Linked DNA regions of Homo sapiens: regions 1 and 3 are each linked to region 2. Evidence: promoter capture Hi-C in 16 types of primary human blood cells and fetal thymus (Javierre and others, 2016). All regions are on one chromosome and are shown on one strand. The core of a region is centred on a gene start or on the middle of the fragment in contact, and the rest is flanking DNA. Distances in the headings are between cores, read along the strand shown. Region 1 overlaps TMEM8B (transmembrane protein 8B). Region 2 holds the start of NPR2 (natriuretic peptide receptor 2). Region 3 has its middle 16 kb from the start of OR13J1.

The links. Contacts are between HindIII fragments. The CHiCAGO score rates a contact against its expected background, and 5 or more counts as called.
Region 1: a fragment that was not itself captured here is called in contact with the fragment with the promoter of NPR2 in region 2 in 4 of 17 cell types (neutrophils, naive B cells, activated CD4 T cells and 1 more); the score reaches 6.3 in neutrophils.
Region 3: a contact is called between a fragment that was not itself captured here and the fragment with the promoter of NPR2 in region 2, in 13 of 17 cell types (neutrophils, naive B cells, naive CD4 T cells and 10 more). The highest score is 9.9, in neutrophils.

Annotation. Positions count from the first base shown.
Region 1 is chr9:35,859,653-35,864,759 of GRCh38, reverse strand. TMEM8B (transmembrane protein 8B) reads right to left here. Exons shown (of 13, transcript NM_001042590.4): 13 at 1-5,107. It also overlaps the pseudogene OR13E1P. Among named protein-coding and RNA genes, the nearest start is that of OR13J1, 8.2 kb to the left of the region's middle. The HindIII fragment of the contact is 3,766 bases long and covers 381-4,146 here.
Region 2 is chr9:35,788,039-35,792,840 of GRCh38, reverse strand. NPR2 (natriuretic peptide receptor 2) reads right to left here and starts at 1,250. Exons shown (of 22, transcript NM_003995.4): 1 at 1-1,250. The coding sequence starts at 432. It also overlaps a transcript of RGP1 not described here. The HindIII fragment of the contact is 14,834 bases long and covers 1-4,802 here.
Region 3 is chr9:35,884,059-35,888,726 of GRCh38, reverse strand. No RefSeq gene overlaps it. Among named protein-coding and RNA genes, the nearest start is that of OR13J1, 16 kb to the right of the region's middle. The HindIII fragment of the contact is 8,845 bases long and covers 1-4,668 here.

The DNA of each region.
Region 1 (5,107 bases), core at 1,014-3,513, 71 kb before region 2:
TTTCATCTGACCCATTGCTTATTCTCAAGAAATCATTTAAAACATTTAAAAGCCAAAATATTTGCTGGGGGACAGGGATAGGGACAGGATGGTAATAATATCATCTACTGCTCACTGACTATTTACCAGTGCCAGGCTCTGTTCTAAGAGCTTCGCATGCTTCCTGTCACTGGATCCTTAAAACAAGCCCACAAGGAAATACTGCCGTCTCCATGGTATAGGTAAGGAAGCTGAGGCTGAGAACATTGTTAACAAGTGGAAGAGCTGGGGCTTGGACCCTAGTCCCGTCTGACTCCAGGGCCATCCTCATCTTCTCTGCCACACAGCCAGGAAGCAGGAATCCCAGATCCAGGCATTTCGGGGAAATTGTAACCGAAGCTTTCTTCTTGTTATGCCCCTATCTTTTCTTTTAAAATAATTTGTGAAGCCTAAAATAAGTATTAAGTGGTTAAAATTAGATTTACCAGACAATGAGACTGATATGTCAGTTAGCTTGCAAAGTAACCCTGGGTCTATCAGACCTCAGGTTGGAAGTTGCTAGAAACATATGAGGAAATGTTTCAGAGATTACAGCATATCGGAGATCGCTTAATTGGCTCCACTTCTCAGAAGGAGAAATCTGACCAAAGTCATACAGCAGAAAAGGAACAAAGGCCCCGATTCAAACCTGGGACGTGCCCTCCCAGTCCAGGGCTCATTCTAGGCATCACTCTGCTTCTCAAGAGGCGTAAAACCGGGGAGTGAAACCAGGCAGCTATTTTCAGAGACACTCCAGGTCCTATCCCTCTGTGACTCTGATCTTCCAGGCCATGACCGAGCGTGACACTGCGTGACACTGGTAGATGGCCACTAGAGTAGCTTTCTGAGAGTCATAAGACGCCATTGCACCCACATGCAGAGGAGCTGCTCAGCAGTAATTCTGGTTCTCCTCCTTCTGGGCAGGTGGTAGGATGCCGCAGGGCCAGTGGGCTGTGTGCAGATATGACAAATGTCTCCTGTGGCTCAGAGCAGCAAGAGCCTCCAGTGTGTCCTTCCCCAGCCATAACAACTGGTGACGTCCCACAGGGTGGAGCCTCCATCTGCCAGGGGCTCTGAGAACCCTGAGCCACCGGGAAAGCCACAGTAGACATGTAGCATGAGAAATAAAACTTCGTCATGCTAGCCACTAAAATGATGAGGTTGTACGTTACTGCAACATAACTTAGCCCATCCCAACCCAGCCACCATGGGAACCAGCTTCTATCTGATGTCCCAGCCTGTGCCCATGTTACAGGCAAAGCTGTAGGCAACCTGGTAACATGGCATTTTCTGGACACAGAGTTATTTCTTTAGGGCCACAAGCCAATGGTTTCGTGTGCTGGTTCTAGTTTCCATGAATGTGTTACGATCAGACTTTTAAGTTGTGAGGAAAACCCACCATGTTACTGATGTAGCTCTTCAGAAAGAGCAGGTGTTACTGCAAACAGGAGACTGGCACTGCCCAAAGCCCTTCTCCTAGCAATCACAATAGCTGTATCATTCTGTTGCGGTGTATGTGTTGGAGGGGGAAGGGGGAATTGATTTTGAGGCAAGACCTTGGGTTCAGCGTTCTTCGTTTGCTTTTTTAGAGAAAGGGCCTCACTCTGTTGCCCAGGCTGGAGTGCAGTGGCACAATCATAGTTCACTGTAACCTCGAACTCCTGGGCTCAAGTACTCCTCCCACCTCAGCCTTCTGAGTAGCTGTGACCACAGGTGCAAACCACCATGCCTAGGATCAGGATTTTTGGCAGAACAACACTGGATGTCAATAAATAGTTCAACTCAAATGGCAATCACTGACACCTCCTGGCTGCGGGTCACTGGAGGGTGACAGTGATGAAGGACACAGCCCTTTCACTGCAATAGCTCATAGTCTAGTCAGAGAGAGATATACAAGAAAAATGAACTATAATGAAGGCAGAATGAACTTAACCTCCACTAATAGCTGTGTGACCATCTTGTTGTCCGGGTGGTCAGTTTTATGAAGCCATCTGAGAGAAGGCTGCACGAGACAGTGGTGTGTGAACTGAGCCTTGAAGGATGAGTAGAAAAGAAAGGCACTCCAGCCTGAAGAAACTGCCCAAGAAGAGGGATGGGACTGGAGCACACAGGCTTTGTCCAAAAGACAGGGAGTGGTCTGATGAGGCTGCAGCAGGTGTGCATGAGGGATGCGGTGGAGGCAAGGCAGGAGGACGGGCCAGAGCCTGCACACACAAAAGCCCTCAAATGCCTCCGCCAGGCCCACTTGGTCTTACTGTTAGAGGTGTGAGTGATAAAGAAAAATGCAGTCAGGTGGTTTCCCACCCTTGGCCTGCTTGAAACCCCCACGCCTGTGTCCAGTGTCAGAATTTGAGATGGACATAGTTCTGTCTGCAGCAACACCCCCATCAGAAACAAAGCTCTTATAGTTCTGCTTTCCAGATTTCAGGTTTTACTTTGTCTTTACATCCCAGACTCAGAGAGAATCTCAGAGATCTAAAGCCTGGAGAGAGGAGGGGGAGGTGTCCAAAGTCACCGAGTGAGTGAATGAATGACTGCAAACTCCATGAGGGCAGGAGCCAGGTCTGTCTCTGCTGTATTCCCAGCACCTGGCCCAGGGCCTAACACATAGTAGGTGCTCAATAACTATTTGTTGAATAAGTGAATGAATGAGGCTTCACACTTGGGGAATTCTTTACTTTTTGCCAAACATCACCAAGAAAATCCCTAACTGTAGATGTTCACATGGATGATAGTTAAAGGTCAGTTACTGACCAAGATTACCCAAGTGCCCCTATATGTTCCTGAAACTGTCCTTTAAGAATCACCCTGATTCAGGGTAGAGGAAGGAAATCCTGCACAGGCTCTGGAGAAAGCTGGTGTCATGGAGGACACTGGAGCCCTTGTCCAGGAGGTGGCTAGTATAGATGGAGCAGGAACCTGTAGATAGAGGAGGCACCTGTAGCTGATGATGGATGCCATCCTCCATCCAGCCTCAGTAACAGGTCATTGCACCCCCCGGGGCAGCACCTTCAGGTGTATGTTTCCTCTGAGCTACATAGCATCCCAGTCTTCAAGGAGGAAGCTGAGTCTGAGAGAGGTCAAGTGTCTTGGTCAGTGTCACACAGCTAGTCTGAACTACAGCCAGGAGGCAAAGCTGGGTTTTGGAGTCGTGCATTCGCTATCTGCTGGGTGCCTGCTATTGGCAGCACTTGCTGCATGAGGTGCTGGTAGGAAGGAGGCAGAGTCCTGCTCTTAAGGTGTAGTAGAGAAGACAGGTGCACCACAGCGCACAATGACACAGAGGGATGGCCAAGGGCAGTGGGAGCACAAGAAGGCAGCAGGTAACAGCAAGGGGAAGGAGAGGGAGGAAAAGAGATGGAGCAGTGCTGGGCTCTGGAGAATGGGCAGAACACCCCCCACTGGGGATGGGCGGGAGGACACGCCTCCATCTCGGACAAAGGTGCGGAGCTGGGAAAAGAGATGGTTTCTTCAGGAAAGGGTGAGCCCTGCAACTCGACAAATCGTGGATACAACGAAACAGGAGGAATAAGAGAAAGAAGAAATCTAGCCCGGAAGGACAGACAGGGCTCCACTGCTGTCACAAAGCACTGTCCTCACAACCAACCCAGGAGCGAAGGGCAGGAGGGGAGAGGTGGATTATATCTTCTGAGTGATAAAAGTTCACACTCAGCTCCTATTTTTCCTTCAGACCAGGGGCCACCTGGCCATAAGACATTTTTCCAGTTCTAACAAGACTACTGTTCTCTGGACACACCTGGGCTTCCTCCTAGGAATACCTGACGCTGGCCTTTCCCGAGGAGAAGTGAGAGCAGCTCTGCATGGCGATGGAGGTCACCTGGGAGAGACCACAGCCTCGCCCACCGCTCCCTTTGCAAAGCTGGTCACAACTGACCGCACCTCCACCAGATTCGTGCCTGGCTTCCCTCCTCGTGTGACATCATTGTCAGTATCATTTCTCCTACAAAGCAATATGGAGGCCAGAAAGTAAGTTGCTTGGCTTTCATGACCACAGTTCAGTCCTGTGACCAGTAACTCTATTGAGACATGTACGTTCTTATGTGTCCTTTTAAACAAAATAATGAATGGTCCATGATTCCTTAAGGAGAGATGACCAGAAATCAAGCTTACACATCCTATGGGGCTGAAATATTTGATCTTCATGGCCCAAGGAACACTAGGTGAGCATCATCCATTACCCACCTGCCTTCCGGAGCTCATCTCACCTGACTCAGGGAGTGGGGCAGCGCCTGTGACAGGTGTGGAATCCTTTTGTCCACTTACTTTCCTTACTGCTATAGCCCCAGCACCTGATACCTAGCACAGAATAGGTACTTAATAAATACTTAGTGGATGAATAAATCTGAAATACTATGGCCATAATTTGGTCACATGAAACCGTAATGTAGAAAAGATGCTTCCTGTTAATGACCAAAAACACTTTGGATTCCAAACGATCATTTTAAACATGAATCTTTCTCTGCTGTCTCCTCTGACCCCATCCTGGGGAGAGCAGAGAGGAGCCTAGGGGACTAGAATGTGCCCCATCCTCCCCTCAGTGACGTCCACAGAACTGCAGCGCTGAGAAGGCCAGATTGCAGATCTGAAGTCCAACTCCCTCATTATACAGATGGTGAAACTAAATTCCAGAGAGGGAGGCTGACCTGCTGCAGCTCAGACATCAGGTCACTGGGCTCCCAGGCCAGTTGGAGCTTTTTCCAAAAAGCTGGGTGGTCCAGATGGAAAAGGAGAGAGAATGAGATGAAGTGGGCAAACCAGACAGCTGTGACGGAATACGTCCTGATGGGGCTACACGAGCACTGTAACCTGGAGGTGGTCCTGTTTGTGTTCTGCCTGGGCATCTACTCCGTGAATGTGTTGGGGAACGCCCTCCTCATAGGGCTGAACGTGCTGCACCCTCGCCTGCACAACCCCATGTACTTCTCAGCAACCTCTCCCTCATGGACATCTGCGGCACCTCCTCCTTTGTGCCTCTCATGCTAGACAATTTCCTGGAAACCCAGAGGACCATTTCCTTCCCTGGCTGTGCCCTGCAGATGTACCTGACCCTGGCGCTGGGATCAACGGA
Region 2 (4,802 bases), core at 1-2,500:
GGGGCCAGTGCGAACCAGGGTACGATAATGGTCATTCTTAGCCGAAAAACCAGAGGCCACAGCACCCGCAGTCAGCAGGGGAAGGCGCCAGTGGGAGGCAAAGCGGGCCACAGAGGCAGCAGGGTACACGCAACCGGGACCTAACAGCAGGTCGGGGTCATGGTACAGCTTGAGGTCCACAGCGCTCAGCGGTGCCAGGTACTCAGAGCAGGCGCCTTCCAGTTCGGAGCTGACAAACCGCAGGTCCACGGGCAGTGCCCGGCCCAGAGCCTCCACAGCTAGTGCCACAGCGGGTCCCACCCGTGGCCAGGCCCAGGCATAGCTCAGGTTGTGTTCTGGCAGCACCACCGCCAGCGTCAGGTTCCGCGCCCCGGGAGGACGCACCCCACCTGCCAGGGCTGCCACCAACAGCAGAAGTGATGGCAGCGCCATGGGGATAAAGCAGCAGCCCCACCGCCCCCAGAACTTGGGGCTGCTCTGGCCTACAGGGGAGACGCGAGCACCCCCCAGCCTGGAGCCTGGGGAAGAGGGCCAGGAAGAGGAGGAGTAGGCTAGGTAGGCTGGGATGCAGAAGGTGCTGGGGGCCGGGGAGAGGAGGGGGAGATGGGAGGAAGGCGGGGGGCGGGCAAGGAGTGGGCTACCAGCCTAGGGCAAGGACTGAGGACTGAGAACGGGGTGGCAGGGGGAGGGAGGGACCGAGGGGGCCTGCGGCCAGGATGGGGACAGTGCGAGGTGAAGAAGCCTGATAAATCTAAAGCTGAGAAGGAAAAGGGGATCTGGGACTGGGATGGGGTGGGGGTGGGGGGCGGGTGGTACAAAGAAACGGCCTGGGGGAACCTCACAGCTGAAAGGGCCGGGAGGGCAGGAGGGCGCTGCGCCACATAGGACCAAGGGGGTAAGGTGGGAGGGTGCCCGCGCCGCGGAAGGACTGGGATCATGGGCAGGCGGGGAGCGAAGCGAGGCCTGGGCCGGAGGGCAGGGGAAGGCAGGGGTAAATCTCCCTGTGAAGGATTCTCCCGGAGCTCCTGCTTGGACTAACGGGCCCGGGCGCTGGTCCCATCCGGAGCTACGGCGGCCCCGCCCGTGTCCCCGCTCCTCTCTGCTCCGCTTCTCCTGGGCCCTGGCGGCCGGCGCTGCCCGGCGCTTCCTCCCGCCCCCCGCCTGGGCCCCGCGCGCGCCGCTCGTCCGGGTCAGGTCGCCTCGGCCCGGCCCGTCTCCGCTCGCTGCGCCGGCGGCCGAGTGCGACTCCCCCGGGCAGGCCGCCCGCCCCCGCCCCTCCCCCGCTGCCTCTCCTCCTCCCTCCCGGCCCCACCCTCCGGCGCCGGCTGCCTTCCCCCACCCCCCACCCGGGCGCTCGGGACCGCCAGGTCCCAAACCCACCCCGGTGAGCACTTGGGGGCTCCGCACCAAGGCCTCGCCGGCCAGCAGGGTTCCCGGGCGCTCCCTCACTCTCAGGGCCTACCCTGGTCTCCCCCACGCCCCTGGTCCCCCTGCCGCCCCTCCTTCCATTTCCATCTCACACACGCCAGCGACCCCAGGGTTTGTCCTCTCCCCCTCGCTCAGCCCGTTCTTCTTGGGTCTCCCCTCTGAACTCCCTGAGTCCCTCAGTGGTTCCAGTCTCCAGGAAGCAGTCGAGGATCCCCAGACGTGTGGTATCCTCACCAGCCCCCTCACCTAGCAAACCATAGCGCCCTCCCGACGGCAGTGCGGCTTACTCCACCGCGGACCATGCCCGCTCCCTGGACGGGCCCCTCCAGCAGCCAGGGGCCCCTGCTGTACACTTCCCACCAGTCCTTAGAAAGTCCACGAGGCTCCTTCTTGCTTGGGACTCAACTCTCGGCCCCCCGCTGTCTCCATGCCCCCTGCCCTCCTCGTGTCCTCAGAGGCCCACCGCAGCCCGCCCGGCTTCCTCCGCACCATCTGCTCAGTCAGGGCCTCGATTTTCTTTTGTCTCCTGCACAGCGCAGGCTGGCGCCTGGGGAAAGCCTGTAACGGACCGGCGGGACACTCCCCGCAGTGGAAGCCCATCCACGCTCTCCTGGGGTTCCACCTTGCTCCCAGCTTCCCTTAGGAAGCTCTCCCTAGGGCCCTCATATCTGGAGTGCCAATCTGACCCCAAGAACAGCTTGTGAGGGATGATCTCATGGTGGCTGAGAGGGACTGCTATGGGACCTTGGGGATTTTTCTCCAACTGTCATAAAGGACATGCACATAAGCCCATTCTCTGCCCGCGCTAAGAGCCACGGTTTCTCTCCCCCCTTCAAGCTATTTCTCCAGAAATCACAAGCTAAGAGCGCTCCTGGAGCCCTGGAGTGGGGTGGGAGTGTATAGGGCGAGGACGGGCATGGTTTCCCTGAGATGAAGGCGACACCTAGTGGTTTGGTGGGGGAAATTAAGGACAATGCCACTTTATCCTTAGGCACGATATTTATTGAACACCGGCTGCCTAGCACAAGCTGTACCTGTGAATACAAAGAAAGCCGAATGATACAGCCCTTACCTTTGAGGAACATGCATTTGCAATCCCTGGGGCACAGAGGCCAAGAGCAGGCCGTCCCTAACAATGTTCTTGCCTCAAGCCCAGTAGAGATGGAAGCCTCAGGACAGCTCCTTCTTTAACGCAGAGGGGTTGGTAACTCTAGTTCCAGGCTCCCAATACTGCAGTGAAAAGGAATTTTGTCCTATCTGGCCAAGGCAAAAAAAAAAAAAAGGAACAGTCAAAAGAATGACGAGACAACATGAGAAATACTTTAGACCAAGTCAACCAAATAGAATAGTTGATTTTTAAGCAACTACACATTGTTTTATGAGACAAGCAAATCCAAAATGACAAAATTCCTGAAAGAATTACAGAATGGCAGGGCTAAGAGGATCATATAAATATATTGTTTAGCCCTCTCATTTAAAGATAATTGAAAACCAAATCCCAGAGAGGAAGGTCGCAGTGTCCTTACTTGCTCCTCTCCCCCAATCCCACATGGCTTTTTAGTTGCAAAAGAGAGATTAAAATGCAGGTTTCATGGTCTCCAAGGAGAGGCTCTTTATAGATATTTTGCTGACTCATGGAACTTACTGTAGAAAGCTGTGCTTACAATATAATAGCCACCAAACCCAGGCAAGTCTCTCTGGAACACCTGCAGCCCTCAGTGAGGATCAGCCACCACTGTCACCCAGACTCCTACGCAAGTACAAGTGCATCATATGTCATTATTCTGAACATTAAGGACTATTCTTCATTATGTTAGGGATTAAACATTCAAGCATCTTGCCTTTCCCTTTTCCTCCCAGTTGGCCAGTTAACTAGAAAGTAGGAAGGGGCCAGGCACGGTGGCTCTTGCCTGTAATGCCTATAATCTCTATTAAAAACCAAACAAATCAATCAGATATGGTGGCACGAACCTGTGGTCCCAGCTACTTGGGAGGCTGAGGTGGGGGGATCGCTTGATCCCAGAGGATAGAGGCAGCCTGGGTGACAGCAAGACCCTGTCTCAAAAAAAAAAAAAAAAAAAAAGGAAGTGGAAGGAGCCTGGTGCAGTGGCTCACGCCTGTAATCCCAGCACTTTAGGAGGCCAAGGTAGGAGGATTGTTTGAGGTCAGGAGTTCGAGACTAGGCTGGCCAACAAGGTGAAATCTCGTCTCTACTAAAAACACAAAAATTAGCTGGGCGTGGTGGTGGGCACCTGTAATCCCAGCTACTTGGGAGGCTGGGGCAGGAAAACCGCTTGAATCTGGGAGGCGGACATTGCAGTGAGCAGAGATCGCGCCACTGTGCGACAGAGCAAGACTCCATCTCAAAAGAAAAAAGAAAGAAAGAAAGGAAAAGAAAACATAAGTAAAAACTAAAAATAAAATTTAAAAGACAAAAGGGAAGTGGGAAGGAGTGGGGAGATAAAAGATAAATCCCCTAATGAGGTTTTTTATTAACACACAGTGAAAGGCTTTTGGTGTTTATTTTTTCATGTTTGAGGGAAAGCTGAAAATATTAAATAAATGAGAACTTCGGTTATGTATATATCCCACTATCCAAGCTATCACTGCTGTCATTGATATGGGCAATAATATTTTGGCTGTATTTGGTGACCATGCTGCAATACATAGAAAACCTAGGAAATCTAGATTCTACTGGCCTAAGCAGCAACCAGCTAGGGTCCAACTTTCTCTTTGTAGCACTGTCATGGCCTTCTTCTAATCCACAAACAGATACCAGCTATAATTTCTTCTGGATAGGGTCAATCAACACCCTCTTTCTTTTTCTTTTTTTTTTTTTCTTTTTTTGAGACAGAGTCTCACTCTGTTACTCAGGCTGGAATGTAGTGGCGCAATCTCGGCTCACTGCAACCTCCATCTCCCAGGTTCAAGTGATTCTCCTGCCTCAGCCTTCCAAGTAGCTGGGATTACAGGCGCCCGCCACCATGCCCAGCTAATTTTTGTTTTTAGTAGAGACAGCGTTTCACCATGTTGGCCAGCTGGTCTCGAACTCCTGACCTCAAGTGATCCACTCGCCTCAGATTCCCAAAGTGCTGGGATTACAGGCGTAAGCCACCACGCCCGGCCCCAAACACCTTATTTCTGATCCAGAACTAAACTGCAGAGCATCAAATTGGCCAGCTGCTAGAATCTCCTATGGTTTCCAAGCTGCCCTGTCCCTTCTTCAAAAGAAATCCTAATCCTGGTTACACTCAGGCCAAAGGTGCCTCAAGACCCTAGTTGAGCTCTGCAACCACCATGGGATTCGGGCTCATGCTAATTTTCGTGATAGGCTCTGATGCCCCAAACTGACAGCATTAAACGTTTTATAACAA
Region 3 (4,668 bases), core at 349-2,848, 96 kb before region 2:
AATTAAAAATCTAAATAGACCTATAAAGAGATTAGATTAGTAATTTTAAAAACTACCCTACAAAGAAAAGCACAGGCCCACATAGCTTCACTGGTGAATTTTACCAAACATTTAAAGCATTAATATGAATGTTTCACAAACTCTGCAAAAAATTAGAAGCAGATACCAAGAACATTTAATGGAAAAAGAATAGTGTTTTCAACAAATGGTGCTTGGACACCTGGATATCCAAATGCAAAGAATAAAGTTGGACACTTACCATACGCCAAATACAAAAATAGATCGAAGATCTAAATGTAATAGCTAAAACTATAAAATTCTGGGAATAAAACATAAGCATACATCTTTATGCTCTTGACTTTGGCAATGGAATCTTAAATATGATAGCAAATACACAAGCAATAAAAGAAAAACTAGATAAATTGGACTTCATTAAAAATAAAGTTTTGGCCGGGCGCTGTGGCTCACGCCTGTAATCCCAGCACTTTCGGAGGCCGAGGCAGGCAGATCACGAGGTCAGGAGGTCGAGACCATCCTGGCTAACACGGTGAAACCCCGTCTCTACTAAAAATACAAAAAATTAGCCGGGCGCGGTGGCGTGGGCCTGTAGTCCCAGCTACTCGGGAGGCTGAGGCAGAGGAATGGCATGAACCCGGGAGGCGGAGCTTGCAGTGAGCCGAGATAGTGCCACTGCACTCCGGCCTGGGCGAAAGAGCGAGACTCTGTCTCAAAAAATAAATAAATAAATAAAAATAAAAATAAAATAAAGTTTTGTGCTCCAAATACACCATTAAGAAGTGAGAAGAGGCCGGGCATGGTGGCTCACGTCTGTAATCCCAGGAAGGGATATTCTGGGAGGCTGAAGGTCAGGAATTCAAGACCAGCCTGGGCAACATGGTGAAATCCCATCTCTACTAAAAATACAAAAATTAGCCAGGCGAGGTGGCATGTGCCTGTAATCCCAGCTACTTGGGAGGCTGAGGCACAAGAATCGCTTGAACCCGGCAGGTGGAGATTGCAGTCAGCCAAGATTGTGCCACTGCACTCCAGCCTGGGCAACAGAGTGAGACTCTGTCTCAAAAAAAAAAAAAAAAAAAAAGTGAGAAGAGAATTCAAAGAATGGAAGAAAATATTTGCAAATAATATATCTGATAAGGGGCTTATATGTAGAATATATAACTCTTACAACTCATTAATAAGAAGACAAACAACCCAACTTAAAAATAGGCAAAGAACTTGAATAGACATTTCTTCAAAGAAGATATAAAAATGACCAATAAGCACATGATAAGATGTTCAACGTCATTAAGCATCTGGTTGCAAATCAAAGCCACAATGAGATACCACTTCACACCCATTAGGATGACTAAAATCAAAAAGTCAGGTAGTAGTAAGTATTCACAAGGATGTGGACAAGTCAGAAACCTCATACTCTCCTGGTGGGAATGTAAAATTGTGCAGCTGCTTTGGAAAACAGCCTGGCAGTTCCTCAAAAGGTTAAACATAGAGTTACCACATGGCCCAACAATTCCACTCCTAGATATACACCAAGAGAAATGAAAAATGAAAATCTATGTTCACACAAAGACTTGTACACAAATATTTATAGCAGCACTATTTGTAATTGCTAAAAGGTGGAGACAACCCAGATATCTATCAACTGATAAATAGATAAATAAAATGTAGTATAGCCGGACAATGAAACATTATTCAGCCATAAAAGGAATGAAGTATTGATACATGCTAGAACATAGATGAACCTTAAAAACAGCATGCTAAGTAGAAAATCAGTTACAAAAAATCATATATTATATGATTACATTTATATGAAACGTGAAGAATAGGCAAATTTGTAGGATCAGAAAGTAGGTTAGTGGTTGCTTAGGGATTGGAGGATGGGGGCACAGGAGGATAGCTACAGGGTACCAGATTTCTTTTTGAGGTGATGAAAATGTTCTAAAATTGCTTGTGGTGATGGCAGTTCGACTCTGTGTATATGCTAAAAGCCTATGAATTACACTCTTTATTTATTTGTTTGTTTGTTTGTTTGTTTTTGAGACAGGGTCTCACTCTGTTGCCCAGGTTGGAGTGCAATGGCGCAGTCTTGGCTCACTGCAACCTCCGCCTGCCCGATTCATGTGATTTTTCCCCCCTCAGCCTCCTGAGCTGGGATTACAGACCACCATGCCTGGCTAATTTTTGTGTTTTTCATAGAGACAGGGTTTCACCATGTTGGCCAGGCTGGTCTCGAACTCCTGATCTCAGGTGATCTGCCCACCTCAGCCTTCCAAAGTGCTGGGATTACAGGTGTGACCCACTGCGACCAGCCCTGAATTGTACACTTAAAATGGCTGAATTGTATGGTATATCTAATAAAGCTGTTCCCAAAAAAAACAAAAAAGAAAATATAACAAATTAACTTGAAAACCTAGATGAAGTAGAAAAAGTCCTAAAAATACGTAATTTGCCTAAACTGATTTGTGATATGATAGAAAACTTATAACCATTTAAAAAATTGTCAGTAGTTAAAATCCTCCCACAAGGTGAAGACTAGTTGCAAATAGGTCCAACTTGCACAAACTATCCCAGTATAGAAAAATATTATAAGCTAGCATAACCTTGAAACCAAAACCTGACCAGACCCTATAGAAAAGGAAAATTATGACACAACATCCTTTATGAATATATATGTAAATCCTGAAAACATATTAACAAATTAAATCCAGGCGTGTATGGAAAACCTTCTAAATCATGACAAAGCCAGATTTCTTCTGGTAATACAAGGGTGATTTACCATTAGAAAATCAATTGACATAATTCATCATATTAAAACAATAAAGAAGAAAGACTATATTATCATCCCAATAGATGTGAAGACTATTGGACAAAATTTAACATTCATTTTTGATTTTAAAACTCTTAGAGAAAAAAAACCAAATGAAGAACAGTAATATATTATGTCTTCATTTGGGTGAAAAATAAAGGGGGAATGTGTGTGTGTGTGTGTGTGTGTGTGTGTGTGTGTGAGATGACCCTCGTTACAGTGTCCAGAGCAGAGAACTAGGTTATGAGGTGACATGAGTGGAAGGGAGAGTTTGTCTACATATCCTTTTCTGCCTTTTGAATATTGTGCCGCAAAAATGAACAGACTATTAAAAATAAATTTTAACTTAACAATTAAATTACATTTGTAAAAAATGCTTAGCAAATTAGGAATAGAAAGAAACTTTCTTAATCCAATAAAGAATATCTAAAATCAAACATCATTCTTAATATTGATATTTGCAGCTGGGCATGCTGGCTCATGCCTGTAATCCCAGCACTTTGGGAGGCTAAGATGGAAGAATCCCTTGAGCCCAGGAGTTCAAGACCAGCCTGAACAACATGATGAGACCCTGTCTCTACCAAAAACATTTTTTTTTTAATTATTGGGGCTTGATAGTGTGTGTCTGTAGTCCCTGCTGCTACTCAGGAAGCTGAGACAGGAGGATCACTTGAGCCCGGGAAATCAAAGCTACAATGAACCATGATCATGCCACTGTACTCCAGCCTGGGTGAAAGAGCAAGACCCTGTGTCAAATAAATAAATAAATAAATAAATAAATAAATAAATAAATAAATAAATAAAAGATACTTGAAAGCATTAAAGATCAAGAGCAAGACAAACCTGTAATCCCAGCACTTTGGGAGGCTGAGGCAGGTGGATCACCTGAGGTCAAGAGTTTGAGACCACCCTGGCCAACATGGTGAAACCCGGCTCTACTAAAAATACAAAAATTAGCCATGTATGATGGCACGTGCCTGCAGTCCCAGCTACTCAGGAGGCTGGGGCAGAAGAATCACTTGAACACGGGAGGCAGAGGTTGCATTGAGCCGAGATCACACCATTGCACTCCAGCCTGGGTGACAGAGACTCCGTCACAAAAAAAAAAAAAAGCAAGACAAAGATGGCTGCTTTTACTACTTCTTTTCAACATTATTCTCAAAGATCTTAGCCAGCACAGAGGCATAATAAAATATGTAAAAAGGAATAAGGATTGAAAAAGAAGAAACAAAACTGTCATTATTTGCAGATGATGTTTGTCTACAAGAATATCCAAAATAAACTATAGATAAATTACTACAATTAATGTGACAGTGGAGCAATATTCCAGGCCTTAAAATCAGTAAACGAAAATAACAAAAATTAATTGCATTCCAATGTAACAACAATAAACACTGAAAATGTTATTTCTAAAACTGATCCCATTTACAATAACATTAAAATATATAAAACAGCAGTTCCAAAAATAACAAATGTGTAGAACCTTTAATGAGAAAATTTTTTTAATTTAATGATATACATTTAAAGAAAATGAAAGTAAATGGAGCAATATACCATGTTTATAGACTGGAAGACTCAATATAATAAAGATATAAGTTATCTCAAAATTGCTTTATAGATTCAAAGAAATTCCAATCAAATTTCTGAAAAGTTTTTTTAGAATTTGTCAAGCTAATTTTAAAATTTGTATGAAATCATCAAAGCGTTCATGTAAAGAGAATACCAAAGTGGGCATACTTGCTTTACCAGATAACAAGAATTATTCTAAAGCTCTTGTAATCAAGACAGTACAGTATTGCTGCAGTGATAGACAAATCTCCCACAATAAAGAACTCAAGAGCCAG